Linked DNA regions of Homo sapiens: all the other regions are linked to region 3. Evidence: promoter capture Hi-C in human tissues and cell types (Jung and others, 2019). All regions are on one chromosome and are shown on one strand. The core of a region is centred on a gene start or on the middle of the fragment in contact, and the rest is flanking DNA. Distances in the headings are between cores, read along the strand shown.

Region 1 (4,650 bases), core at 727-3,226, 340 kb before region 3:
TGAGAAGGTGGTAAGTGCTCTGCAAGAAATAAATCCAGAAAGGAAGGCCAGGCACTGTGACTCACTCCTGGAATCCCAGCACCTTGGGAGGCCAAGGTGGGTGGATCACCTGAGGTCAGGAGTTCGAGACCAGCCCGGCCAACATGGTGAAACCACCTCTCTACCAAAAATACAAAAATTAGCTGGGCATGGTAGTAGGTGCCTGAAATCCCAGCTACTTGGGAGGCTGAGGAAGGTGAATCGCTTGAACCCGGGAGGCAGAGGTTGCAGTGAGCCACGATCGCATCACTGCACTCCAGCCTGGGTGACAGAGCGAGACTCAGTCTCAAAAAGATAATGAATAAATCAGGAAAGGAAGGTAGTGTGCACAGGTGTGGGAGGTCAGGGAAGTATCTGGGAGAAAGCACAACAGGCAGAGGGAACCACCAGTGCAAAGGCCCTGGGGTGGGAATGTGCCTGGTGTATTCCTGGAACAGCAAAGAGCCCCGTGTGAGAACAGTGGATGGAGTGGGCAGTTCAGGGAGGGACATATGGCAGGAGCCAGGGAGAGGTTGGGGAGGACACAGGACAAATTGACAGCAGAGGTTGCCTCTGGGTGGGGGCTGGGGGAGGATGTGACAAGGGCAGGTGCAGGGGACGCCCTGGGAAATGGGGGTTGAGGCAGAGGGTCACTTGCTCTGACCATGTCTGTGTGAAATGTTTACAGATGGAAAATGCTTTCTTGCTTTGTTTTTCAGCTTGGATATCTGGTTTTGGACATCCCTGCGTGCACTTCTGGAGTCTTTCGAGATTCAAGGAGGTCTCCTTTCCAGCATCTTTGCCCCACATTTTCTCCTTCTCAGCCTCCCTGAGAATGTTAGGAATTAGCCCCTGGGTGGCCTCACCCTCTGCTTGGGCCTGGAAAGCCAACCCCTGCCCCTTCCCTTCTTCCCAGGGCACAGACACGCACAGACACACACACAGATGGTGAAAGAGCCTGCACTGCAGTGGTGACTGTTGCTGCATCCAACTCTAAAGCAGCCCTGGCCCAAACCGCCCCGCTCAGACCTGGACCAAGGGGAGATCAGACCCCAAAGGCCTGTCCAGAGTGGGTGCGACCTGCGGTCTTAGAACTGAGCTTGTTTGTCCCTCCTGGGTTCCCTCTGGCTTCTGCCTGTCCGAGCCAGTCATACTGGATCTCTCATTTTAAAAATGAATGCTGCTGGTCCCCCTGGCTCAGAAGGGTCCTCCAGGCCTCTCTGGTGCCTGCCAGAATTATTGTAAGCCCAGCATTGCACGTGAAAAGTTGACAGGGCTCTAAAATCCCAGGGGGAAGGTCCCTCTAGCAAGTTAAAGTGGAAAGGATCCACAGATTCGAATCCGACAGATCTGGGTTCACCTCCAAACTCGGCTATCTCATTGAATCACTCAACAAACACGTTTTCTGTTGGTCCTGGGGTCCCACAGTGAACAAGACTCAACACGGAGGCAGCTCTCTGGAGGGCAGAGTGGGAGACACCTGGCTGGGCCTGCTGCATGTGTCTCCCACTCTTCCTGGTCCGTCTTCCTGAACAGCAGAAGCCAACGACCATGTTTCCAGGATCCCTTGCAGCTAGGGCTCTGTATGGATTCTGGGTCCAGCAACCCATTTATCACACTCAAATTCAGGACCAAGTCCATCGGGTGGAGAGAGGGTCTGCAGCAGCCACTGGGCCGAGTGGACTGCAGCAGGGGGTCAGACACTATGGGGACAGAGTCTCATTTGGAAGGTGGCTTCCCACCTGGGCTGGGGCAGCAGCTCCCTGGTAGCCCAGGCCTGTGACATCGCTGAGCATCCTGCCAGGAGGCTCCACCTCAACTGCTCAGGCCCTGTAGCACCCTGCGGGAAGCCCTCCAAACACCCAGGGCAGATCCTCTTCCCTGCAAGATTGAGGGAGTCACGAATCACACAAGCAAAGGAAGGAAGCATCATCAAGGCTGGTGAAGGGGGCCCAAAAGGATAGGGGCCAGGAGTGCTGCAGAGCACGGGGAGGACAGGTTTGAGATTAGGTGATCCTGGAGGGTCTCCCTGAGGAGGTGACATTTAAGACGGCGGCGGCCGGGGGTGAGGGAACAGCATTCTAGGTGGGAGAAACAGCAGATGCAAAGGCCACACCATGGGAAGTGACTCGATGTGTCTGAAGAATGGATAGAACACCGGTGTGGCTGGAGCGTGAGGAGGGGCAAGTCACTTGATCTCTTTGAGCCTCAGTTTTCCTCATCTGTAAAATGGGGCTGGACTCCCTCCCTGGCTGAAAGCACAAGAAATCAAATTAATATGTAATGGCATGCTGTTGTTTCAGGTGGTGTTGAGAGGAGAGTAAAGCACAGGGTGGCTGGGGAAGGCCTCTTGGGGGAGGTGACAATGGGGCACAGACATGAATGAAAGACAGTGCCAGCCACGAGGATGTCCACAGAAAGGACATTTGGGGCAGGGGGCGTGGCAAGTGCAAAGGCCCTCAGGTAGGATGCACGAGCTCGGCAAACACGCATGTCCTCGCAAGCCACAACACGGAGCCCACCCTTCCCCTACAAGCAATGGGAGACCCTGATGGGTTTCAGCAGGACTGTGGTCAGGTCTGGGCGTGTTTAGAATGGGGATCCCTGAGAGGCAGGGAGGCCGGGTGGGAGGTCTCATGGCAATGAGAAATAACGAGTGCCAAGACAGGGGCAGTGCAGGGGGTGGAGGAAATGGGCGCTGTGGAGGGTCAGCAGGTGAGATGTAGGGAATCCAGTGCCCCAGGCCTCAGGAGGAGAGGCCTGCAGGGGCGGGGCCGAGACAAGCCTGGGCAGGGAGAAGGGAAGGGAGCCCGTCTGTGCCTGTAGCCTGGGCAGGGAGAAGGGAAGGGAGCCCGTCTGTGCCTGGAAACCAATTTGCTCTGGCAGCGCTGTGGAAGAAAAATTCCACGCATGTCCCCGCGAGCCCTTCGAAGCTCTTCGTGGAAAGGCACACACTGCAGTCTTGGAGTGCATCCTGCTCTTAGGGCCTCTGGGGGCCAAGTCAAGCCGATGAAGGGTGTGCGATGTGGGTGGATCAGGCCTGGGAGGCTCCAGCGCGGCCTCTCCAAAGCCACCCATCCCATGATCTTTCCTACCTTCCCCATACCTCAGTTTCCTTTCTGTTATATGGGTGTCCTGTGAGCCCCTTCCTCACGGGGTGGCCGTTAGAATTAAATGGGATCCTGGGTGTAAAGCCTTAGCACAGTGCCAGGCCATATAGATGTCAGCCACAAGGGGAGGTGTGGGCGTGGGCCAGGAGAAACCCGGGAAGACTTCCTGGCAAAGGCAGAACTGGTGCTGAGACTGGCTAATCACTGCAAAGGCTGCCTGGGCTATTCCAACCTGCCCAGTTCATGCTCAGACTTCTGGAATCTGCAAGAACCTTTGGAAGGAGACACGATTATCAGCCCCATGGTATTACTCTCCTGTCGCTGCTGTAATGAATTAAGCCAAACGTGGTGGCTGAAAACAGTACAGATTCATTACCTTACAGTTCTGGAAGTCAGCAGTCTGAAGTGGCTCCTGGAGAGATGGAATCAAGGTGCCAGCAGGGCTGTGTTCCTCTTGGAGGATCTGAGGGAGAATCTATTTCCTCACCTTTTCCAGCTGCCAGAGGCTGGTGGCCTCGCCTCACTCCAATCTCTTCTTCCATCGCTGCATCTCCTCCCCAACTCTGACCTCCTGACTCCCTCTCACAAGGAAGCTTGTGATTACACTGGGCCCACCCGGATAATCCAGGATCATCTCCCATCTCAAAATCCTTTACTTAATCACCTCTGCAAAGCCCCTTTGCCATGTAAGGTAGCAGATTCACAGATTCTAGAAATTAGGATGGGGACATCTCTGGAGCTATTATTCCACCCAGCAGATCCGTCTCATGCATAAGAAAAACAAAGGTGAGAAGCCAGAGGGAAAGCTTGAGATCACCTGACTCAAGAGGGGAGCGTTGGCTTCGAACCCAGTCTGTCCAACTTCAAAGCCTGCAGTTGCCGTCATTTCAGGATTCCCGCTTTTCCCATGCGTATTGTCTGAACCTGCATTTGGGGGCTCCAGCCACTGCCTCATCAGTTCATCTTAATTGAGCACCTATTATGTACCAGGTAATGTTCCAGGCACCAGGGATACAGTGGTCACCAAGCCAGGAGAACTTCCCTGTCTGCACAACGCTCATAGTCACTCAATCACATCCATTATGAGGCAAGTCACAGAAACCTCAGCTCAAATCAACGTAAGCAATGAGGTCATTTATCATTTCACATAGCAAGAAATTAGGAGGAAGGGTGGTTCTGGGTTTGGTTAGATTGAGTGCCATTGTCAGGGATCTCCCGGTTCTTTCCATCTTTCTGGTTTCCTCCCCTCAGATTGGTTCTCATCCCAAATTTCCTCATGACCACAAAATAGCTGCCACTGCTCCAGCTAATATATCCAGGCACAACATTCAGTGCAGGAAGAACAAGAGCCCTTTCCCCAAAGCCCACTGCAGCCCTTTACTCATATCTCATTGGCCAGGATTGGGTCCCATGCCCACAGCTTGATTAGTCTCTGGCAAAGGAAACAGAATCACTGGCCTGGGACCAATCTGGATAGTCCCCTAGAGCTAAAGATGTGTCCCGATTTCCTGAGTCCCCTGGA
Region 2 (4,336 bases), core at 709-3,208, 430 kb before region 3:
ACAGGAGCCCACCTCCCACGGTCCCACAGCAGGGCAGGACTCCAATGCAGCGCTGCCTTCCTTCAGGTCCACATTCACCGAGGACATTTACAGGGAGGGAGTGTGCTACGGTGGCACTGGAACACCCCAGAGTGACTGCCCCTCCCTTGCTACGGACCACCCCACCGTCCCCACCTGGGGCTGGCTACAATGCAGAATCTCCAGTACCATCTGAGGCCTACTGAGTCAGACTCGGCATTTTAACAAGATCATTGGGTGGTTCACAGGCACAGTCCATCCGGGAAACGCTGTGAGCCTAACACAGATAACAGCACCCGTGATGCCATTTCCCTCTCACCCACGCAGGGCAGACATCGCTGGCCGATCGCAGAACTCTTGCTGCTGAACCTGGCCTAACCACCTTCTCAACTCAGCCTAGCAGCCTGGTGCAGAGACTGGAGCTGCCCAGTTTCCCCAGCGACTGGCTCTCCTGAACCCTCCTCCGCAGTGTGCCTAGAGAGGGCATGGCCTTGCCTAACTAAGCACACCCCACGGAGCTGGGACTCCTGGCCTCCACCTCTGAGGCTCCAACCATCACCCACCAGAAAGAGCCTGAATATGGGCCTTGCTGAAATGCTTTTCCCAGAGGCTAAGCAGGGAATCCACAGCTGTTCCCCTCCTGCACAAGCCCTGCCTGGCCTGGCCCTCGCTGTCCCGCCACTGCACTCCTGCCCCAGGGCCTTTGCACCTGCTGGGCTCTGCCTGGAGCACTGAGACCTCAGGCCCTCCATGTGAGCTCCTCCCCTTCCTGTCATGGTGCAGATGGCGCCTCCTTGTCCCAGGCCAGACCACACTACACCCGCCTGTCTGCTCTCTCTCCACTGCCCTCCCACGCGCTTGGTGACAACAGGTGTTTCCTGGCCACCTCCCCCACCCATGAATGAACGCAGGGTGGTTCACCTGTCTTGTTCATGGCTGTCCCCAGGTACTGGCGCACAGTAGGTGTTCAATCAGTGCCTGTAGACTGACTGAATGCTGCCCACTGCAGCACGGGCTGGGGCCGTGTTGCTGGCCCCCCCGGGGAGCGGGGCAGCCACCCCTCTGTGCTCACCTCCCTGGAGGGCCCTCAAGTCCTTGTCCCTCCAAAGCTGGGCCCCAAGACATCCCCCTCTTCAAGGCCCAGAACCCAGGGCTTCACCATTACATGGGGCTTGGCAGGAAGCGCATGGTGTTTTCTCTTAAACATGATAGTGGCACTGCAGTGGCTCAAATAATGTCCTCCCAAAATCCACGGCCACTGGAACCTCCAAATATAACATCCTCCCAAAATGCACAGCCACTGGAACCTCAAAATAAGACCTTCTTTGGACCTAGGGTCATTGCAGATGGAATTAAGCTAAGATGAGGCCATCCTGGATTAGGATCACTGGGATCCTTGTAACACAACAAGAGAACACAGAGACAGACAAGGAAATGGCCACGTGAGACAGAGGCAGAGGCAGAGGCAGAGATTGGACCGATGCAGCCACAGCTGAGGAACGCCTGTAGCCCCCAGAAGCTGGAGGAGACAGAAAAGCATCCTCCCCTTGAGCCTTCTGAGGGGGCGCGGCCCTGCGGACGCCCTGACTTCAGATCACGGGAATGCACTTCTGTGGCTTGAAGCCGCCCAGTTTGTGGCACGTTGCGACGGCAGGCCCAGGAAACCAATCCAGGTACAGAAGGCACGCTGCCTCGGCCTCCCCTCCTCCAGACGCCTGCGCCCACCTGAGTTCACCAGCCCCGCCTGATCTGGGGCCCTGGGACACCTCCGTGGTACCATGAAGGGCTGGGGCCTGGTGCCTCGACTTCTAGTCCTGGCTGAGTAAACAAGAGCCCATCCCTCAACCTCGCAGCCTCAGCTGCCCCATCTGAGAAATAGGCACAATTCCCCACACCTCAGCCGTCTCCAGCAGAAGCTCCTAGAGAAGATGGGAGAAAGAACGTGGCCTACCGATCCCAAGTGAATGCATGGAGAGCTGGCTCTGACCCAGCCCTGGCCCTCCCCTTGCTGTAGTCCCTCCAGCTCCCCACCCCACCTCCCTCCCACTCCCCACCTCCCTCTCACCCTACCACCTAACCTGTTCATTCCCTTCCCACCTGGATCAAGGAAAGTAAGGCTGGCCCAGCACAGGCACACACCAGAGGGTGTCCTCTGCCAGCTGGAGAAGAAGGAAGAATGGGAGGAGAGGGCAGGGGCCCCAGGGGCACCAGGTGTGGACTCAAATCTTCCCACAGAAGCCCAGCCCTGCTGCAGCCCAGCTTGGAGGTCCCCACTGCTGCCTAAACCCACAGAGGCCACTGAAGTTCCACGCTGGAAGTCTGAGGGCCACGTGGCTCTTCCCTGCTCGTCCCATCCTCACCCCGAGTCACGCCCACGCCAGGTCAAGGGTGAACACACGGCCCGACATCCCCTCATTTCACAGGACCCTGTGTGCTCCTGCTCTGCCACGGGCCTCTGCTTCTCCATCTGAGAAGGAGCTCTCACGCCCTGGACAGGGAGGCAGCAACTCTCTCCTCACCGTTCATTCCCGGGCTGGAACTCAGACAGCAGGGAGGGCCTCCGCCGCTGGGGCTGGATGATGGAGCCGGGCGACAGGTGGGAGGCATAGTCGCGGGAGTGGTGCTGGTACTCCAGGAGCCCGACGTCCTGCAGGAGGGGACAGAGGAGTGGTGAGCGTGGGCGGGCACGGGCATGGCGGGGCACGGCAGGGCACAGTGGGCAAGGCCGTGGACTCCCTGCTCAGGCTCGCTCCTGCCCTAGGCAGATAAGCCCAAGTCCTGCAGGGAACCTCAGGGACCGTCTGGCCAGAGGCTACCCTTGGGGCCGAACACCAAGGAGGAGAAAGAACACAGCTGAACGGCCCTGGGCTGCATCCTTCCCACACAGCATCCCAGGGACCCACGATCACGCCCACCTTCCAAATGAGACTGCCAAGCCTGGGAGGTCTGATGGGGCTGTCTGAGGCCACAGGCTAATACAGGCCTGGAACCATCCTAACCATGGCCTCTGTCTGCCGGCCATGCTGGCGTTGACTGGGGGGCCAGAGTAGAGGAAGCTGTCTTCGCTTTTCTACCCTCCCACCCCATCCTACCCCTGCCAGGCTGTGGGTCCCTCCAGCCTGAGGAGCTGAAGCTTGGAAATGCAGGCCTGGGAAGACAGGACTGAAGGTGCATACGGGGCAGCATTATTTGTAAAAACAGAAATGCATTTGCAGCAACAACTGGGAAAAGGCCCAACCTAGATGCCCAGCTCTTGGCAGGGTGGGTAAGTGATGCCCACGCGAGGGAACGAGGCTCGGGCCTCACTCGCCAGGAGAAGGATGGATGGTGGCAAGTGATGGCGACAAACACCCGACAGCCAGCGAGGCCCAAAGACCAGGTTTCAGAACAAAGCGACCCCTGACCCCAAGGCCGCCCTGTAAAAGAGGAACTCCCCGCTCGTATCACAGCCAGAAGGGTAAGCCTTAGGCAGACCTTCCTCCTTTAATAACACACCGTCGTCCATTTGACAAAGACTCTCCTTGCCCACACCTGAGTCAAGCTCCTCTGACCCATCCTCTCTCTACGGGGCCTCGGCCTTGGCCTTGGCCTTGCGGGGCTCTGCCCAGCTGCAGGCATCCTGCTAAGTCAGTCTAGAGGAACCCCCCACCCTCAAGCGCTCCTCTTAGTAATTTTCCATCCACCGACCCCTCCCTCCGCCCTGCGGCTAGGCTATGAGGCCCCAGCTGTCTTGGCCGTATTTGGCGCTGAGCCTGGTCTCTCTCCCTTATCGTGACAGTCTTGACGCTGATAGCACAATTGTCCTGTACGGTCTTCCTGCTTAACAAGAGTCCAAATACTTGTTTCTTTAACACATTATCCATTATCATAGGGGGTAAAACTCAATATCAACAAATTAGATGTATACCAATTGCCAAGTACACCCAGATTTGAGAAACATTAAACTGTGTTTAAAAAAAAAAAAAAAAAAAAGACAGTAACAAGCCTCTCAAACAAAAACAAGACAGGCTTCACTTACGCACCAATTCCAATAGATTAGTTCTGTCTGCCTGGAACACTCAGTGAGGCTGTTTGCGGCAATCAGTTAGTGATGTCTGACAGGTAAGGCTTTAGAGAGTGGGATTACAAGGGACTTCGTCTCTTCTTGGCACCTTTTTTTAATTTTCCCAATTTTCCATAAAAATCTAGTCACTCTTTTGTTGTCTGGCTTTTTCAACAAGGCAGTTATTTTTGCAAAGAGAATCAGAGACAATGCCAGGTGGGTGCGTTGATAATGTATCTGTTGCAGACCCAACAAAATCAGCACATAAGAGCCCGG
Region 3 (4,587 bases), core at 1-2,500:
CTTTCCGGCAAAGATCAACCTCTGCTGGTCAGGAGGAATGCCTTCCTTGTCCTGGATCTTTGCTTTGACGTTCTCGATGGTGTCACTGGGCTCGACCTCAAGGGTGATGGTCTTGCCAGTGAGTGTCTTCACGAAGATTTGCATCCCACCTCTGAGACGGAGCACCAGGTGCAGGGTGGACTCTTTCTGGATGTTGTAGTCAGACAGGGTGCGCCCATCTTCCAGCTGTTTTCCAGCAAAGATCAGCCTCTGCTGGTCAGGAGGGATGCCTTCCTTATCTTGGATCTTTGCCTTGACATTCTCGATGGTGTCACTGGGCTCAACCTCGAGGGTGATGGTCTTACCAGTCAGAGTCTTCACGAAGATCTGCATTGTCTAACAAAAAAGCCAAAAACGGCCAGAATTTAGCGGACAATTTACTAGTCTAACACTGAAAATTACATATTGACCCAAATGATTACATTTCAAAAGGTGCCTAAAAAACTTCACAAAACACACTCGCCAACCCCGAGCGCATAGTTCAAAACCGGAGCTTCAGCTACTTAAGAAGATAGGTACATAAAACCGACCAGAGAAACTGACGCCTCACTTATCCCTCCCCTCACCAGAGGTCCGGCGCCTGTCGATTCAGGAGAGCCTACCCTAGGCCCGAACCCTGCGTCCTGCGACGGAGAAAAGCCTACCGCACACCTACCGGCAGGTGGCCCCACCCTGCATTATAAGCCAACAGAACGGGTGACGTCACGACACGACGAGGGCGCGCGCTCCCAAAGGTACGGGTGCACTGCCCAACGGCACCGCCATAACTGCCGCCCCCGCAACAGACGACAAACCGAGTTCTCCAGTCAGTGACAAACTTCACGTCAGGGTCCCCAGATGGTGCCCCAGCCCATCTCACCCGAATAAGAGCTTTCCCGCATTAGCGAAGGCCTCAAGACCTTGGGTTCTTGCCGCCCACCATGCCCCCCACCTTGTTTCAACGACCTCACAGCCCGCCTCACAAGCGTCTTCCATTCAAGACTCGGGAACAGCCGCCATTTTGCTGCGCTCCCCCCAACCCCCAGTTCAGGGCAACCTTGCTCGCGGACCCAGACTACAGCCCTTGGCGGTCTCTCCACACGCCTCCGTCCCACCGAGCGGCCCGGCGGCCACGAAAGCCCCGGCCAGCCCAGCAGCCCGCTACTCACCAAGTGACGATCACAGCGATCCACAAACAAGAACTGCGACCCAAATCCCGGCTGCGACGGAACTAGCTGTGCCACACCCGGCGCGTCCTTATATAATCATCGGCGTTCACCGCCCCACGGAGATCCCTCCGCAGAATCGCCGAGAAGGGACTACTTTTCCTCGCCTGTTCCGCTCTCTGGAAAGAAAACCAGTGCCCTAGAGTCACCCAAGTCCCGTCCTAAAATGTCCTTCTGCTGATACTGGGGTTCTAAGGCCGAGTCTTATGAGCAGCGGGCCGCTGTCCTGAGCGTCCGGGCGGAAGGATCAGGACGCTCGCTGCGCCCTTCGTCTGACGTGGCAGCGCTCGCCGTGAGGAGGGGGGCGCCCGCGGGAGGCGCCAAAACCCGGCGCGGAGGCCGCTGCACCGGGAGCGGGTGGGCGGCCCGCGTTCCTTAGCCGCGGCTCCGCGGCCCCTCCCCTCAGCCCCCGCGGTCCCCTCGGGTCGCGAACCCCGCGTTCGGCGGACGTGGGGCACGCAGCGAGCGCCTTCTGCAGAGTCGGGGTCTCCCTCCCCTCCCTCCTGACCCGCCCTGGCCCACCCTGCGAGATGGACGGGTCTTTATTTTTGGGTCACATTTGAGGTAATGACGGGGCTTCCTTTGCTCAGCCCCCTTCAACCTCCCTGAGCCTCCCAGGCCGGTCGCGGGGGGCTCCCGGGGCCGCGGGACAAGGACAATGACTCGGCAGATCTCAGGGCGGGCGTGGCCCTAAAGCTGGGGAACGCTCGAGAACTTTCCAGGGGAGACACTGCAGAGGAGCTGGGTGTCCAGGTTAAATTTGGAAAAAAGAGGCGGAAACCCCACACAGTTTTATTTTAGCTGGAACGCAAGGCTGAGCGAACGACATCCTTCTAGACTGTTCTTCCACCTTCCTGTACATTCTGAGGGCCAGGTATGGAAAGGTCCTACTTGATGCCAACAGGGAGGCATGGAAATTTCTCTGGTTTCAATGGGTACGATTATTGTAAGCAGGATCCATTCAATAATCGGACCCATTTAAACCGGAGATTTTAAAAGACAGGAATAGAATCCCAACCTTATTTCAGTGCAGGGTAGGGTGTCAAATATGAAATGTAATTCTACAGGGCAATTCTATTTTGGTAAAAGAAGTGGGGAGAAAAGCATCACCAGCCAGCTTTTTAAATTTTTACCACAACCTATTTTGTGATCCCTACGTGTCATTTCTTCAGTATATTTTTTAAATGTTTTAAAATATACGAACATGGTGAGATTTTTTAAATGTGTCTTTTTAAAGTGTACAGTGAAAAGTCTCCCTCATGCCCTCAATTTCCCAGCCACTGTTCCTTCTGGACTCTTCTACAAATAGTCCCTGTTTCTACAAATGTATTGGAGGTAGGGAGGCTATTTTGATTTCTACCCTTAAAAGCTTCAAAAAAAAGAGAAAAAGAGGCTACCAACTGAAAAATATTTTGCCATTAGGAAAAGGCTGCATTCTTGTTTTAAGTTATGAACATTACATTATTTAAACGGCAGACTTAAAATATGCATCAAAGCAAAATGAACCTGCTATATATTTTCTATGGTAACCCATGTTTCTGTGTATTTATGAAAATCCAAGATCTGTGCATTGTTCAAAACAGACTTTGACATCTCCAATTTTTAACATTTTAAAGAGAATGAATTCATGTGTTACTGGGAAATTAAAACGAATAATAAAAGTGTCATTTTCCAGGATTGGCAGGATACCCCAGTGATTTCCAATACACATTTCTGCAAAGTTTTTGTTTTTTGTTTTTCCCCTACATTTCGGGAAGGAGTTTTGAAGGGATTAAAAAGCTGAGATTCTTTCTGAGGTGACCAGGCCTGGCTTTCAACCACGCCCTGGTTGCTTTTGGCTGTTACTCTGCTGCAAGCCTTGTGATTCATGTTGTTTAAAGGCTGAGTCACCAGCTTTGTGACATAGCTTTTTTCAGAGTCCAAAAGGTACAGAGAAAAAACAGCCCTAACTGCAGAGGCAGGGGCGGGAGAGGAGGACAGGAGGAGGAAAAAGGAAGAAGAGGGGATGAGGGTAGGGTGGGTAATGGGCCAAAGGTTAGCTGCAAAGAGAAACCAATGTTGTCTCTAGCAGAAAAAAATTATTGAAAACATCCCAGCATTCCCTGACTTAAATGGTTATTGAAGCAAACAGAAATAAACCTTTCTCCAAAGTCACTGAGGTGACAGGGAAGAAAATGGCCTCCCAAAACGCAGGTGTCTGATGTTTCTCTACAACAATGGTTCTCAACAAGGAGTGATTTGCTCTTTCAGGGGACATTTGGCAATATCTGGAGATATTCTTGGTTGTCACAACTCAGGGGAGGTTAGGGGATGCTACTACTAATACTAGCACTGTTGGTAGACACCAGGGATGCCACTGAACATTCTATGAGGGACAGTCCCCCACAACAAAGAATTATCAGACCCAACATATTAATAGTGCTGAAATTAAGAAACCCTGTCCTACAAAGGATTTTTGTTGTTGCAACAACTGCTTTTCTGTTTTCCGAAAGGGTTCCCAAAGTCTAAATGTCCCACTTGGACTCAGGAGTCAGGTATCAAGTCACGCTCTTAAAACCTAAACCCTGCTGACCTAGAATGCGATGTGCTAGAATGTGCAAGAATCGGGATGAGTCACTGGATCCGTTTTCAGTTCGTTCCACCCACAGATCCGTCCTTTGCAGGCGCCCCAGAAAAGATTGCTTCAGAGCTGGCACCAATGGAGAAGGGACAGAGGCCCAGCAACAGGGCGGGATTGGCAGGCGGAAGGGAGCGTGTGATGAGCTGAGCTCACAAAGGGCCGGGGTGCTGGGCTGCAGCTGGGGAGGGCGGGGTTGGATCAGCGCCTGCTCCTCCGCCTTCGTTTTTCCCCTCCCCCTAAGGATTCAGTTCCCCCTTCTGAAATTCACCACCTTGTATGTGACTTAATCCAGCCCCATGAAACTGTCTGAGAGCATGAGTGAGGGTCAACAAACTTGCTTCCCCCAAGAAAAAGGGTGGAATCAGAGAGGTGGTGGGAAGGGTTTGCCTTGCTTTGTCATCGCTTATATAACCATAAAAGGTTGTCAAGGACGCCTGCAGGTTAGAGGCCTGGCAAACAGGAAGTAAAAAAAAAAAACCTGGGGAATGTGTTCTTCTTCCTGTTTCTGCTTGTGCTGTATAACTGTGTGGTGGAACACAAACCGCTCCAGCTTAAAAATAACCCATTCATCTCAGCGGTCAAAACCGGACTTAGCTAGTCTCCAAATTTGCCTACTTTAGGAACATTAGGAAGTTATTTAACCTATTTGGGCTTTGTTTGTGTCGTCGTTTGGTTTTGTCTTAAAATTGTGGTAAAATACACATAAAATTTACCATTCTTAAG

The links. Contacts are between HindIII fragments. The study calls those that stand out against the background at their distance.
Region 1: a fragment that was not itself captured here is called in contact with the fragment with the promoter of UBC in region 3 in 1 of the 25 tissues and cell types used here (hippocampus).
Region 2: a contact is called between a fragment that was not itself captured here and the fragment with the promoter of UBC in region 3, in 1 of the 25 tissues and cell types used here (lymphoblastoid cells).

What each region holds. Positions count from the first base shown.
Region 1 is chr12:124,575,381-124,580,030 of GRCh38, forward strand. No RefSeq gene overlaps it. Among named protein-coding and RNA genes, the nearest start is that of NCOR2, 10 kb to the left of the region's middle. The HindIII fragment of the contact is 3,701 bases long and covers 127-3,827 here.
Region 2 is chr12:124,483,904-124,488,239 of GRCh38, forward strand. It overlaps NCOR2 (nuclear receptor corepressor 2), which reads right to left. Exons shown (of 49, transcript NM_006312.6): 4 at 2,538-2,665. Among named protein-coding and RNA genes, the nearest start is that of NCOR2, 82 kb to the right of the region's middle. The HindIII fragment of the contact is 9,163 bases long and covers 1-4,336 here.
Region 3 is chr12:124,913,400-124,917,986 of GRCh38, forward strand. It overlaps UBC (ubiquitin C), which reads right to left and starts at 1,251. Exons shown (of 2, transcript NM_021009.7): 1 at 1,188-1,251; 2 at 1-375. The coding sequence starts at 372. MIR5188 (microRNA 5188) reads left to right here and starts at 2,148; the gene lies at 2,148-2,260. RefSeq lists enhancers at 548-1,505, 830-1,279, 2,604-3,803, 2,903-3,582, 2,944-3,238 and 2 more and silencers at 1,490-1,829, 3,188-3,247. The HindIII fragment of the contact is 8,951 bases long and covers 1-4,587 here.